Linked DNA regions of Homo sapiens: region 1 is linked to region 2. Evidence: promoter capture Hi-C in 16 types of primary human blood cells and fetal thymus (Javierre and others, 2016). All regions are on one chromosome and are shown on one strand. Each heading gives the region's core, a stretch centred on a gene start or on the middle of the fragment in contact. The rest is flanking DNA. Distances are from core to core; before and after follow the strand shown. Region 1 has its middle 20 kb from the start of LINC03078. Region 2 holds the start of CEACAM8 (CEA cell adhesion molecule 8).

Evidence for each region. Contacts are between HindIII fragments. The CHiCAGO score rates a contact against its expected background, and 5 or more counts as called.
Region 1: a contact is called between a fragment that was not itself captured here and the fragment with the promoter of CEACAM8 in region 2, in 1 of 17 cell types (activated CD4 T cells). The highest score is 5.3, in activated CD4 T cells.

The regions. Positions count from the first base shown.
Region 1 is chr19:43,308,506-43,314,889 of GRCh38, reverse strand. No RefSeq gene overlaps it. Among named protein-coding and RNA genes, the nearest start is that of LINC03078, 20 kb to the left of the region's middle. The HindIII fragment of the contact is 938 bases long and covers 4,356-5,293 here.
Region 2 is chr19:42,593,637-42,599,987 of GRCh38, reverse strand. CEACAM8 (CEA cell adhesion molecule 8) reads left to right here and starts at 5,064. Exons shown (of 6, transcript NM_001816.4): 1 at 5,064-5,223; 2 at 6,088-6,351. The coding sequence starts at 5,160. All of the region lies in intron 2 of LIPE-AS1 (LIPE antisense RNA 1), which reads right to left. RefSeq lists an enhancer at 3,231-3,731. The HindIII fragment of the contact is 2,514 bases long and covers 4,561-6,351 here.

The sequences.
Region 1 (6,384 bases), core at 3,575-6,074, 720 kb before region 2:
CACTTTAAGAGATAATGCCCTAAGTGACAGATTACAGGGGGAGCTCCTCCGCTCATTCCTGCCTTTAAAGAGGAGGAATGGGGGGTGTCAGGGGCTCTTTCTTTTCTACCTCGAGTCCCACCAGGAGCCCTTGATAAATTTAAAGGTAGGACCTAACCATGAGTCAATTACTTTCTTAGTCGACTGAGGCTCTACTTGCTCCTCCCTATGTGTTACCCCAACTGGGCTAACATATTCTCCAGAGGAGTTGTTAGTCTCTGGAGTAAAAGGGGAAGGATTTAAAGCAAAGATTTTAGAAAGTGCCAAGGTAAAATATAAAGCCTGATCAAGTAACATTCAATTCCTATTAATTCCTAAAGCAGAAACTAATCTACTTCGGAGAGATTTAATGTTAAAATTAGGTATTGGTCTACAGCGTAGCAGGATGAGCAGCAGACAAAACTTCTCAGACACCTAGTTAAAGAAGGAAGGGGTTTATTCGGCCGGGAGCATCGGCAAGACTCCTTTCTCAAGAGCCGAGCTCCCTGAGTGAGCAATTTCTGTCCCTTTTAAGGGCTCACAACTCCAAGGGGGTCCGTGTGAGAGGCTCATGATTGATTGAGCAAGCAGGGGGTATGTGACTGGGGGCTGCATGCAGCGGTAATCAGAACAGAACAGAACAGGACAGGGATTTTTATAATGCTTTTCCATACAATGTCTGGAATCTATAGATAACATAACCTGTTAGGTCAGGGGTCGATCTTTAACTACCAGGCCCAGGGCGCGGTGCCGGGCTGTCTGCCTGTGGATTTCATTTCTGCCTTTTAGTTTTTACTTCTTCTTTCTTTTGGAAGTAGAAATTGGGCATAAGACAATATGAGGGGTGGTCTCTTCCCTTAACAGGTTAGCCCAAGAGGGTTCTTAACCTCACTAAATTTGCTAACTATGGCAAAATTTCCCCTGGTGTCTGGCCAAAAGAAAGAAACTGAAGGAGGTTACAGATTCCCCCAATCCAAATAAAATTGAAGACTCCAGGGGAGATTGTAAGGAATAAATAGTATCCTATCTCCTTGGAAGGGCAGATAGGGTTGAAGCCCGTAATAGACTTACAAAAGATGGGCTCCTCAAGCCTTGCATGTCTCCCTATAATACTCCCATTTTACCTGTCAAGAAACCTAACAGGTCATACTGATTAGTGCAAGATCTTAAAGCTGTTAATGAAATAGTGCAGACTCCTCACCCAATCATGCCAAATCCCTACACTATTCTTTTCTTATTTTGAGACAGAGTCTCACTGTGTCACCAGGCTGGAGTGTAGTGGTGCAATCTTGGCTCACTGCAACCTCCGCCTCCCAGGTTCCAGTGATTCTCCTGCCTCAGCCTCCTGAATAGCTGGGATTACAGGCACCCACCACCATGCCCAGCTAATTTTTGTATTTTTAGTAGAGACGGGGTTTCACCAAGTGGCCAGGATGTTCTCAATCTCTTGACCTCATGATCTGCCCGCCTCGGCCTCCCAAAGTGCTGGGATTACAGGCATGAGCCATTGCGCCTGGCCCATCCCTACACTATTCTAAGTAAAATTCCATATAGTAATCAGTAGTTCACTGTCTTAAATTTAGAGGATGACTTCTGGGCATGTCTTTTAGTGGAAAACAGCCTGACCTGTTTGCCTTTGAGTGGGAGGACCCCCACAGTGGGCAGAAGCAACAATACAGATGGACAGTTCTGTATCAAGGGTTTGCAGATTCACCAAACCCTTTTAGTCATGCCTTAGAGAAAGTCATAGAGAGGGCTGCTATCCCAAAACAGCTATGTTTACTTAACACATGGATGATATTCTTATACCTGGAGAGGATATAGAGAAAGTAAATAAGTACACCATCTATTTTCTAAATCATTTATACACTGAAGGGCTACGAGTCTCAAAAGAGAAGCTCCAATATGTAGAACCAGAAGTCAAATACATGGGCCATTTAGCACCAGCAAAAGAAGAATTGGTCCTGAGCGAGTAGAAGGAATTCTGTCCCTGCCACTGCCCTGGATCAAACAAGAACTTAAAAAGTTTGTAGGATTAATTAGATACTGCCGATTATGGATCGACTCCTATGCATTAAGAAGTAAATTATTATATGAAAAGTTAGCTAATAAGGGGCCTGACCCCCTTATGTGGTCCTCTAAAGAAGTAGATCAAATTAATAAACTGAAGCATAGACTAATGTCTGCTCCAGTTTTAGCTCTGCCTTCTCTTAAGAAGCCCTTCCACCTTTTTGTTAATGTAAGCAATGGAGTAGCCTTAGGGGTGCTCACTCAAGAACACGGAGGCCGGTGACAACCAGTAGCTTTTCTGTCTAAGATTTTAAATCCTGTTGCCAGTGGGTGGCCCCAGTATATTCAATCTATTGCAACCACAGCCATATTAGTAGAAAAAAGTAGAAAAATAACCTTTGGGGGGTATTTGACCGTGAGCACATCTCATCAAGTCAAGACCATTTTGAGCCAAAAAGCAGGAAGCTGGCCCACTGATTCCAGAATTTTAAAATATAAGGCTATTCTGTTAAAAAAAAAAGGATGATTTAAATGACTTAACCATAACAACAGATAACTCACTCAACCCTGCAGGGTTCTTGACGGGAAATCCGTTGCTACAGACAGAACACTTGTGCCTCAACTTAATTGACTACCATACAAAAGTCCAGCCAGATTTAGCTGAGGCCTCTATAGATCGGGGCAACACCTATTCATAGACAAGTCCCCCTGGGTGTTTAATGGGGAATAACACAGTGGATATGCAGTAGTAGATAGAGAGACACTCGAAGAAATTAAATCAGGATGGTTACCCAATAGCTATTCTGCTCAAGCTTGTAAATTATTTGCCTTCAGTCAGGCCTTAAAATATTTAAAGGATCAGATAGAAACTATCTACACAGATTCTAAGTATGCCTTTAGGGTAGCACACACATTTGGGAAGATTTAGGCTGAACAAGGTCTTATAAATAGTAGGGGCCAAGAACTTGCTCATAAGTCATTAGTCATGTCTTAGATAATCTCCAGCTACTAAAGTAGATAGCCATCATGCACATTCCTGGACATCAACATGATTTTTCCCTTAAGAGCCGAAGGAATAACCTTGCAGATCAGATGGCCAAAAAGGCTGCAGTCTTAGATATGCCCATTTTTCATTTAACTCCCCACCTTCCTTCTCCTACTGTTGTGCCTATCTTCTCCCTGGCTGGGAAAGAAAAATTAGTTGAAATCCCAAAGCAAAAAAAAAAAAAAATTCATAAGAAAGCTGCATACTTCCAGATCAAAGAGAGATGCTATCTAAACCCTTTATGAGGGAAGTATTATCCCATTTACATCAAGGGACTCACTGGGGTCCCCAGGCCCTATGTGACATGATTCTCAGAGTCTTTAGGTGTATTGGCATTTATATTCTAGACAGGCAGATCACAAATGGCTGTCTCATCTGTAAGAAAGCTGACAAACAAGCTGAAAGGAAATTGCCTTTCGGAGGAAGAACTCCGGAGTTAAGACCATTCCAAAACGTCCAAGTCGATTATACTAAAATGCCACCCATTAGTCGGCTAAAACACCTGCTAGTAATAATTAATTACCTTAACCACTGGGTAGAAGCCATCCCCTTTTCGAGGCAACTGCCAATAATGTGGTAAAACCATTAATTGAGCATATTATACCCAAGTTTGGAATAATAGAAAATATTGACTCAAACAATGAAACCCATTTTGCTGCACATATTATTAAAAAGCTGGCCCAAGTGCTAGACATAAAATGGGAATATCATATTCCCTGGCATCCCTTATCCTCCGGACAAGTAGAAAGAATAAATCAAACCCTTAAGAATCATCTGACTAAATTAATTCTAGAAACTCATTTACCATGGACCAAATGTCTTCCCATTGCCTTATTAAGGATCAGGACAGCTCCCCAAAAGGATACAGGCCTGTCTCCATATAAAATGTTATATGGATTGCCTTATTTACATTCCTCAGCTAATGTTCCTATGTTTGAAACTAAGGATCAGTTCCTCAGAAATTATATACTTGGTCTCTCCGCTACCTTTTCTTCTCTTAAGATAAAAGATCTCTTAGCACAGACACCACCGCTAGAATTTCTAGCTCACCAGCACTAACCCAGGGACCATGTTCTCATCAGAGGGTAAAAAGAAGGGAAACTTGTGCCCGCCTGGGAAGGCCCTTATCCTGTACAGTTGACCACCAAGACTGCCATCCGCACAGCCAAGAGAAGATGGACCCACCATACTTAAGTCAAGAAATCATCTTCCTCATCAGAATCATAGGTTAGTGTACCGGGATCAAGCCTTAACAAGTTAAAGTTAAAAAAAACCAAAAGCTTAATTTCCATATCCCTTCTATATTGCTTCCTTTCCTTTCCTTATTCTGTTACTAGCTCCTTTTGTTATTAACATAACTAAGTCTGACTCATCTCAGACCATTGCCTTTAATGCATGCTCTGTCATACCTTGTAAAGATGTGAAGGATCAATGACAGCTAGCTTTTTCACACAAATATTTATGCTCCGGCCCTCTAGTTGACATAGTTCCTCCTAGCACTCATGGTTGTGAATACCTGCAGCCGAGACACCAATTTTCTGCTCCTATAGCCTGGCAACCTTGTAGTAGCTGGGACTACATCCTATGGACTACTCAGGTGCAAGGTTGGACTTCCACGGAAGAGGTTTGTGCAGATCTAAAACCCCTCACTAAAGGGACTACGCCTTCTAATTGCCAGCCTTATCAGTGTAACACTGTCCTTCTCTCTATCACCACCTCCACCTTAACTGACTCTAAACCTACTCTTAGTTGCTTCTATGGTATGGGGATCGACCTAAATGGGAAACACCCCCTATGCATTTTTTAGATATGCATTATTCCCCATCTTCCCCTTCTTCAGTAGCCTCAGTTTTAGATCCCATCCCACTTACTCCTACACCTATAATAAAACTACGGTGTCTATTGCAAAGGTGAAAGATCTAAAACAAACCTTAGCCATTAAGACAATGTATCAAAATGCAAATGCCCGGCTGGAATGGATTAAATATTCCATCTGCACTTTAAATAACAGTGATTGTTATGCTTGTGCACAGACGCCCAGATTGTCCCCTTTCCACTCGGATGGTCTCCTCATCAACCAGGTATGGACCATATGGTCACACACAGCTGTGACCATCAGTCATTGTGAGGAGGATTCTACCACAGGCTAAATCCTACCAAAATCCCACTGCTTGGGATAATCCATCATGCTGAGCTCTCTCTCTGCTGTTTCCTAAAGCTTGACACCCTGTGGGTCAGCCCCCAAGGGCAATCCAGCTTCCACCTCTAAATGCCAAGTTTAGTTCGTGCCTCCCATGGCAAGTGGAGAATTTGGTGTTCCTTGGAAGCATAAAAGGATGCAAGAAGCTCAAGCCTTTCCAGGAGCTTGCCCATCAGTCTGTGCTTAGCCACCCCTGAGCAAATGTATGCTAGTACTGTGAAGGACCTTTACTGGACACTCTGCCAGATAATTGGAGGAGTATTTATGCTCTAATCCAATTGGCTATCCCTTTCACCCTGGCATTTTATCAGCCTTAAAAAAAAAAAAAGTAAAAACAAAACACTGCAGGCCCAAAGAAACTCTTTATAAATCCTTTAATCCTCAGGTTTACATAAACACTATTGGGGTCCCGCAAGAAGTGCCAGATAAATTTAAAGCACGAAATCAAATAGCTGTGAGATTTAAATCTTTGTTGTTCTGGTGGGTAACTATAAATAAAAATGTTTTCAAAGCTTTATACAAAAACTTGTCCCTGCTACTCTCACAAAATTGTTTCCTAACTCTCCACCATATTCAAAAAGATTACTTCTCTTAAAAGGACAAACAGAGCAATTAAGTCAAAACATATTAAACAAGTTTGAAGAGTAATTATAAAATAAAAGAGGGGAGAATTGTAGAGAATGAAATAAATAGAGGTCCTCTTCAAAGGGATTTTCCTCCCAGTCTAATTGAAAATAAATAGTAACCTCTCTTAAAAGCACAATTTTCTCAAAGACCTGTGCTAATATTCTTAAATTCTGCCAGCCATAATAAAGAAATCAATATACTCTGTGTTCTTAGACCCCACATTTTAGCTTAGATATTTGCCCTGATATGCCTGAACCAGTCCAAGCAAGCATTAGGTCAGGCTTATTCCTTTCCCTACTTGAAAATGTTTTTGCCTCTCTCAGCATTCCACAAGTTAATTCCTCTCTTCCTTTATTCTCTGCCTTTGCCTCTTTGGGAAAGTTCTAAGTTGCTAGCCAATCAAGTCAAGTACAAATTGGGAGGTCCGTTCCAGCCAATAGAAGCTGGACATAGCAGTAGGGTGGACGGGTCAGGTTATAAATGA
Region 2 (6,351 bases), core at 3,815-6,314:
TGCTGTGCCCCAGAATTTGTCCCTGACAACAAGAAATGAAGATGATTTGTCCCTGCTCCCCCTGCTCCCCTAACATTGATATTCCCGCCCTGCACCTCCCTCTTCTGCTCCCAAACCCCTGCCCAGTGCTCAGCTCAAGGCATCATTGCACCCCGGGCATACACAGTACAACCTACTGCACACAAACACAAACTCACAGAAGGTGACACAAAATCTGCATTTGGAACATCTGACTGTGAAAGAGGCAGGGCAGTGAACTTGCAATCACAGAGACGGACTCATGGGTCTGGAATGTGATGGAGTTCTCCTATACACCAACAGTGACCAGGCTGAGAATCAAATCAAGAACTCAACTCCTTTTACAATACTGGAAAAAAATACTTAGCAATATACCTAACCAAGGTGGTAAAAGATCTCTACAAGGAAAACTACAAAACACTCCTGAAATAAATCAGAGATGACACAAACAAATGGAAATACATCCCATGCTCATGGATGGGTAGAATCAATATTGTGAAAATGACCATACTGCCAAAAGCAATCTACAAATCCAATGCAATTCCCATCAAAATACCACCATTATTCTTCACAGAACTAGAAAAAAAAATTCTAAAATTCACATAGAACCAAAAAGAGCCCACACAGCCAAAGCAAGACTAAGCAAAAAGAACAAATCTGGAGGCATCACATTACCTGATTCCAAACTATACTATAAAGCCATAGTCACCAAAACAGCATGGTACTAGTATAAAAATAGGCAGATGAAACAATAGAACAGAACAGAGAACCCAGAAACAAACCCAAATACTTACAGTCAACTGATCTTTGACAAAGCAAACAAAAACATAGTGTGGAAAAATGACACCCTATTCAACAAATGGTGCTGGAATAATTGACAAGCCACATGTAGAAGAATGAAAGTGGATCCTCATCTCTCACCTTATACAAAAATCAACTCAAGATTGATAAGGACTTAAATCTAAGACCTGAAACTATAAAAATTATAGAAGATAACATCAGAAAAACCCTTCTAGACATTGGCTTAGGAAAGAGTTCATGACAACCCAAAAGCAAATGCAATAAAAACAAAGATAAATAGCTGGGACTTAATTAAACTAAAGAGCATTTGCACGACAAAAGGAACAGTCAGCAGAGTAAACAGACACCCCACAGAGTGGGAGAAAATCTTCACAATCTATACATCTGACAAAGGACTAATATCTAGAATCTATAATGAACTCAATCAAATTAGCAAGGAAAAAACAAACAAACAATCCCATCAAAAAGTGGGCAAAGGACATGCATAGACAATTCTTGAAGAAAGATATATAAATGGCCAATAAACATATAAAAATACTCAACATCACTAATAATCAGGGAATGCAAATCAAAACCACAATGCAATACCACCTTTCTCCTGCAACGATGGCCATAATAAAAAATAATAGATGTTGGTATGAATGTTGTGAAAAGGGAACACTTCTACACTGCTGGTGGGAATGTAAACTAGTGCAACCATTATGGAAACCAGTGTGGAGATTCCTTAAAGAACTAAAAGTAGAACTACCATTTGATCCAGCAATCCCACTTTTGGTATCTACCCAGAAGAAAAGAAGTCATTATACAAAAAGATACTTGCACATGCATGTTTATAGCAGCACAATTTGCAATTGCAAAAATGTGGAACCAACAAAAATGTCCATCAATCAATGAGTGGATAAAGAAACTTGGTATGTATATATATGTGTGTGTGTGTGTGTGTGTGTGTGTGTGTGTGTGTGTGTGTATGATGGAATACTACTCAGCCATAAAAAGGAATGAATTAATGGCATCCTCAGCAACCTGGATGGGATTGAAGACTATTATTCTAAGTGAAGTGACTCAGGAATGGAAAACCAAACATCGTATGTTCTCATTCATAAGTGGGAGCTAAGTGATGAGGATGTAAAGGCATAAGAATTACAAAATGGATTTTGGGGACTCAGGTAAAAAGGGTGGGAAGGGAGTGAGGGAAAAAATACTACAAATTGGGTTCAGTGTATACTGCTTGGGTGATGGGTGCACCAAAATCTCAAAAATCACCACTAAAGAACTTACTCATGTAACCAAATACCAATCGGTTCCCCAAAAAACCTATGTAAATAAAATATATATTTTTTAAAAAAAGAAAAAGAGGGGTAGATCTTGATGACTTCGAATGTGGTAATGGATTGTTAGATATGACACAAAAGCATGAGCAACAACAAGGAAAAAGAGATAAATTAAGCCTTATGAAGATGCAAGCCTTTTGTGCATCAAAGGACATTATGAAGAAAGTGAAAAGACCAGGCACAGAATGGGAGAAAAAATTTGCAAATTACATATAGAAGAGCTTCCTGTCCAGAATATATAAAGAACTGCTACAACTCAATAACAAAAAGACAAACCACCCCGTTTATAAATGGGCAAAAACTCAAATAGACATTTCTTCAAAGAAGATATACAGGCCGGGTGCAGTGGCTCATGCCTGTAATCCCAGCACTTTGGGAGGCTGAGGCAGGTAGATCACAAGTTCAGGAGTTTGAGACCAGCCTGGCCAGCATGGTGAAACCCCACCTCTACTAAAAATACAAAAATTAGCCCGGCATGGTGGTGCACGCTTGTAGTCCCAGCTACTTGGGAGGCTGAGGCAGGAGAATCGCTTGAACTCAGGAAGTGGAGGTGATATATGAATGTACATATATACACTCTACCACAATTTTTTGAAAAGTCTTTGGTGAAGAAAACCTACTACGTAAAACATACCCACCCTAATCAGATAGCCCTCATACACTTACATGCAGTCCCTACATGACCTTATCCACAGAGAGATTCAAGGATTCAGAGACATGAAACTGCCCAGCCAACTGCAGATGCACAACATAAATGTATTTGCAAAGAGACTGAGAGTTAAGCTGGAGACACAGACCTCAGCACTGCCAGGACTCTCACCCTCCCCCATGGATTCTGACTTTATCTTACTTGGCGCATTATTCAGATCTTGTTGTGGAGTTGGGGCAGGGTAGGTCATAAAGCCTGACCCCAGGACACTCTGTGTGAGCACATGAGCCACACACACCCCATTAGATCTCCACACACAGCTGTGACCATTGTGAGGAGGACTAACACAGGCTCAGAGATCACACCAGAGAATCAGCCACAGAGAAAAACACGGATGTGGAATGTGATGGAGCTCGACATAACATGTGGGTGACCTCGTGTGAAATGTGCAGATCCATGTGGAATAAAACACGCAGCCGGACCTGGGACTGCGGCCACCCACACTTCCCTTCCAGTCCACCAGAGGGCGACAGAGTCCCTCCAGCCTGGAGCCTTCCCAGGGGCTGCTGACCTCCCTCAGCGGAACCCACAGCCCAGCAGGGTCCACCCTCACCAGGGCACCTCGGCCCACGTCCTCCTTACCCTCCAAGCTCCCCATACGGACTCTGTCAGCTCCTCCCTGCAGCCAGGCAGCCGGCAACATGAGGCCGCCCCCTCTGCAGGCAGCTCCTGCCCCACACACCCAATCCTTCCCTGGGCCTAGTTAAGGCATCTCCCAGGGCAGCGCTGGTGCACGGGATGCCACACTGGGCGCTTTCCCCTCGTGACCTCCCTCCATCCTCATCAACTCTTTCTGTGACTGCTCCCTAAATACCCGCCCCTGCTCCGTGTGTCCTGTTCTCTACGGCATGGCAGGCTGAGCCCAGCGCTGACAGAACCACAGCTGCCTGAGGGCCCACAGTGCCTCTGGGGAATCAGCCAGGCACCCTATGACCTTCCCTCTGCACCCCAGGAGGCTCGGAGAGTATGTGATGGTCACGCCCAGGCACTGTCTGGGATGTAGCCACCTGCCCCCTGCTGTCCTTCGTGAAGCCAGGAGGGAGGACAGCGCTCTCTCATGTACACAAGCTGGGGGGCAAGGAATGAGCTCCCTTTGTTCCCAGAACATGGCCCACCCCTACCTGCCCTCTCAGGTGTGAGCAACGTCCCCCCAGACGGGCTCCCCGGCCGCTGCCCATCCTTTCTCTACACAGAGGGGCCTGACCAGGTCCAAACCCTTAGGACAGACCCCAGGGGATATCAGCATGGGGAGGGCTGAGCCCATCCTGGCTGCAGAGTAAGTTGGGATGAGTCTCTCCAGCTCTGAGCCCCTGCTCTGTCCCAGGCTCCCTCTCCTGGATCTCAGAGAGCACTGTCTTGTGGGGCCCCTGGGCAACTCCCCACTTCCTGCTGCACCAACCATAGGGAAGGTGGGGTGACCACAGGACAGTCAGCCGGGCGAAAACAGAGGACACCCAAGATGGTCAGAGAGAACATGGAAGGCCCGAGCCCCAGCTCAGCTGCCAGAACCCAAAGAGCAAGAGAATGGCTGATACCTGTCCCTGATGACCACTAGGCCCACAGCCCCCACTGACCAACCAGAACAGCCCTCTCTCTCAGGAGGCATAAGAGATTATTTGCCCTGCACACCACCAGTAAGGACAGTCCCCTCTGGGATATCCAGGGCATTGAATGTCCATCCTTGGAAGCTGCAACCAAGCTTGACACAATGAGAGAGGGGGAGGATCCCTCTCACCAGTGAGCACACACCTCCCCAAAGCTCAGTGGTGGTGTCCCTGTGACAGGGTCCTTGCGGAGCGCTGACCTCCTGATCTGAAGGGAAGAGCCAGATGGGGATGGGAGAGGGCAGGGGGAGCGACTGTGCACCCCGACCTGGAGACATAGGCTGCAGGATGCTGAGGGCACAGGGCTGTGCTCACCCAGTCTCCAGGGTGTATGTGTGACTGTGTGTGTCTCTTTGTGTATGTGTGTGTCTCTGTGTGTGTGTGTCTGCATAGTGTGTGCAGAGGTTGGGTGAGAGAATCACTGCTGAAGGAGTCAGAGACCTCAGCAATTCCCAGGGGCCTGAAACACAGACAGAAAATAAAGGGAAAGGAGGGACAGGGAGGCAGGACTGAGAGGGGAGGGGACAGAGAGGTGTCCTGGGCACAGACCCCGCCCATGAGCCTGAGAAGTGCTCCTGCCCCGGGAAGAGGCTCAGCACAAAAGGAGGAAGGACAGCACAGCTGACAGCCGTGCTCAGAAAGTTTCTGGATCCCAGGCTCATCTCCACAGAGGAGAACACGCAGGCAGCAGAGACCATGGGGCCCATCTCAGCCCCTTCCTGCAGATGGCGCATCCCCTGGCAGGGGCTCCTGCTCACAGGTGAGGAGAGGACTTCCTGGGAAAGGACAGGAGGAGGAAACACAGTGACTGGCTGGGGTCTCCTGGGGAGGACGGGGCTCTGAGAGGGGACAGAGGACTTCTGTTGGAGCCTTAATAGAGGAGAGGACACAAGAGAGGGGAAGGGGTCACAACAGGAAAATCACATTGAACTGGAATTGGTAAGAGGCAGGAACATCTCAAGTGTTCCATATTCCTGGTTAATCATCACTGGCCACTACATTTTGAAAAATGATAATAATAACCATACCAGATGACACTTCAAATAAAGCATAACCAGGGTATGAAACATTGTCCTCAGCCAACAATGTCAGACATTGGCAAATAAGCCTCAGGAAGCAGAGGGCCCAGGGAATGCTCAGGAACTCATCCACAGGAGTCTGAAGCCTGTCCCAGGCACTGGGGTGCAGCCAACACCACACAAGTCCCTGCCCTCACAGAGCTCACACTCTCCTGGGGAGGAAGACAGACAAAGAGATCTAGAATGTGAGGTCAGGCGCTGACAGGAGCCCTGGAAGGAACACAGCAGGGAAAGGTCAGAAAGGGAAGACCCAGTGTCTCTAGAGGAGGTGTCAGAGAAAGGGTCTCCCAAGGATGCCCTGATGTGAGCAGGATCTGAGGGCAGTGTGGAGGGAGCCGTGCAGAACCCTGAAGAAGAGGATTCCACCAGGGAAATGCCAAGGTCAGAGGTGTTGAAGAAATGGGGGCTGTGCTGCTGACATTGACTCAGTAGGACACACACACATACACACACATAAAAACACACAAACTCCAAAGCTGATGTCCCCATTTTTCTACTCCAATACATATGTTGCAATATTGCTTGATGCTCTCTCCCCCTCCTAGCCTCACTTTTCACCTTCTGGAACCCGCCCACCACTGCTCAGCTCACTATTGAAGCTGTGCCATCCAATGCTGCAGAGGGGAAGGAGGTTCTTCTACTTGTCCACAATCTGCCCCAGGACCCTCGTGGCTACAACTGGTACAAAGGGGAAACAGTGGATGCCAACCGTCGAATTATAGGATATGTAATATCAAATCAACAGATTACCCCAGGGCCTGCATACAGCAATCGAGAGACAATATACCCCAATGCATCCCTGCTGATGC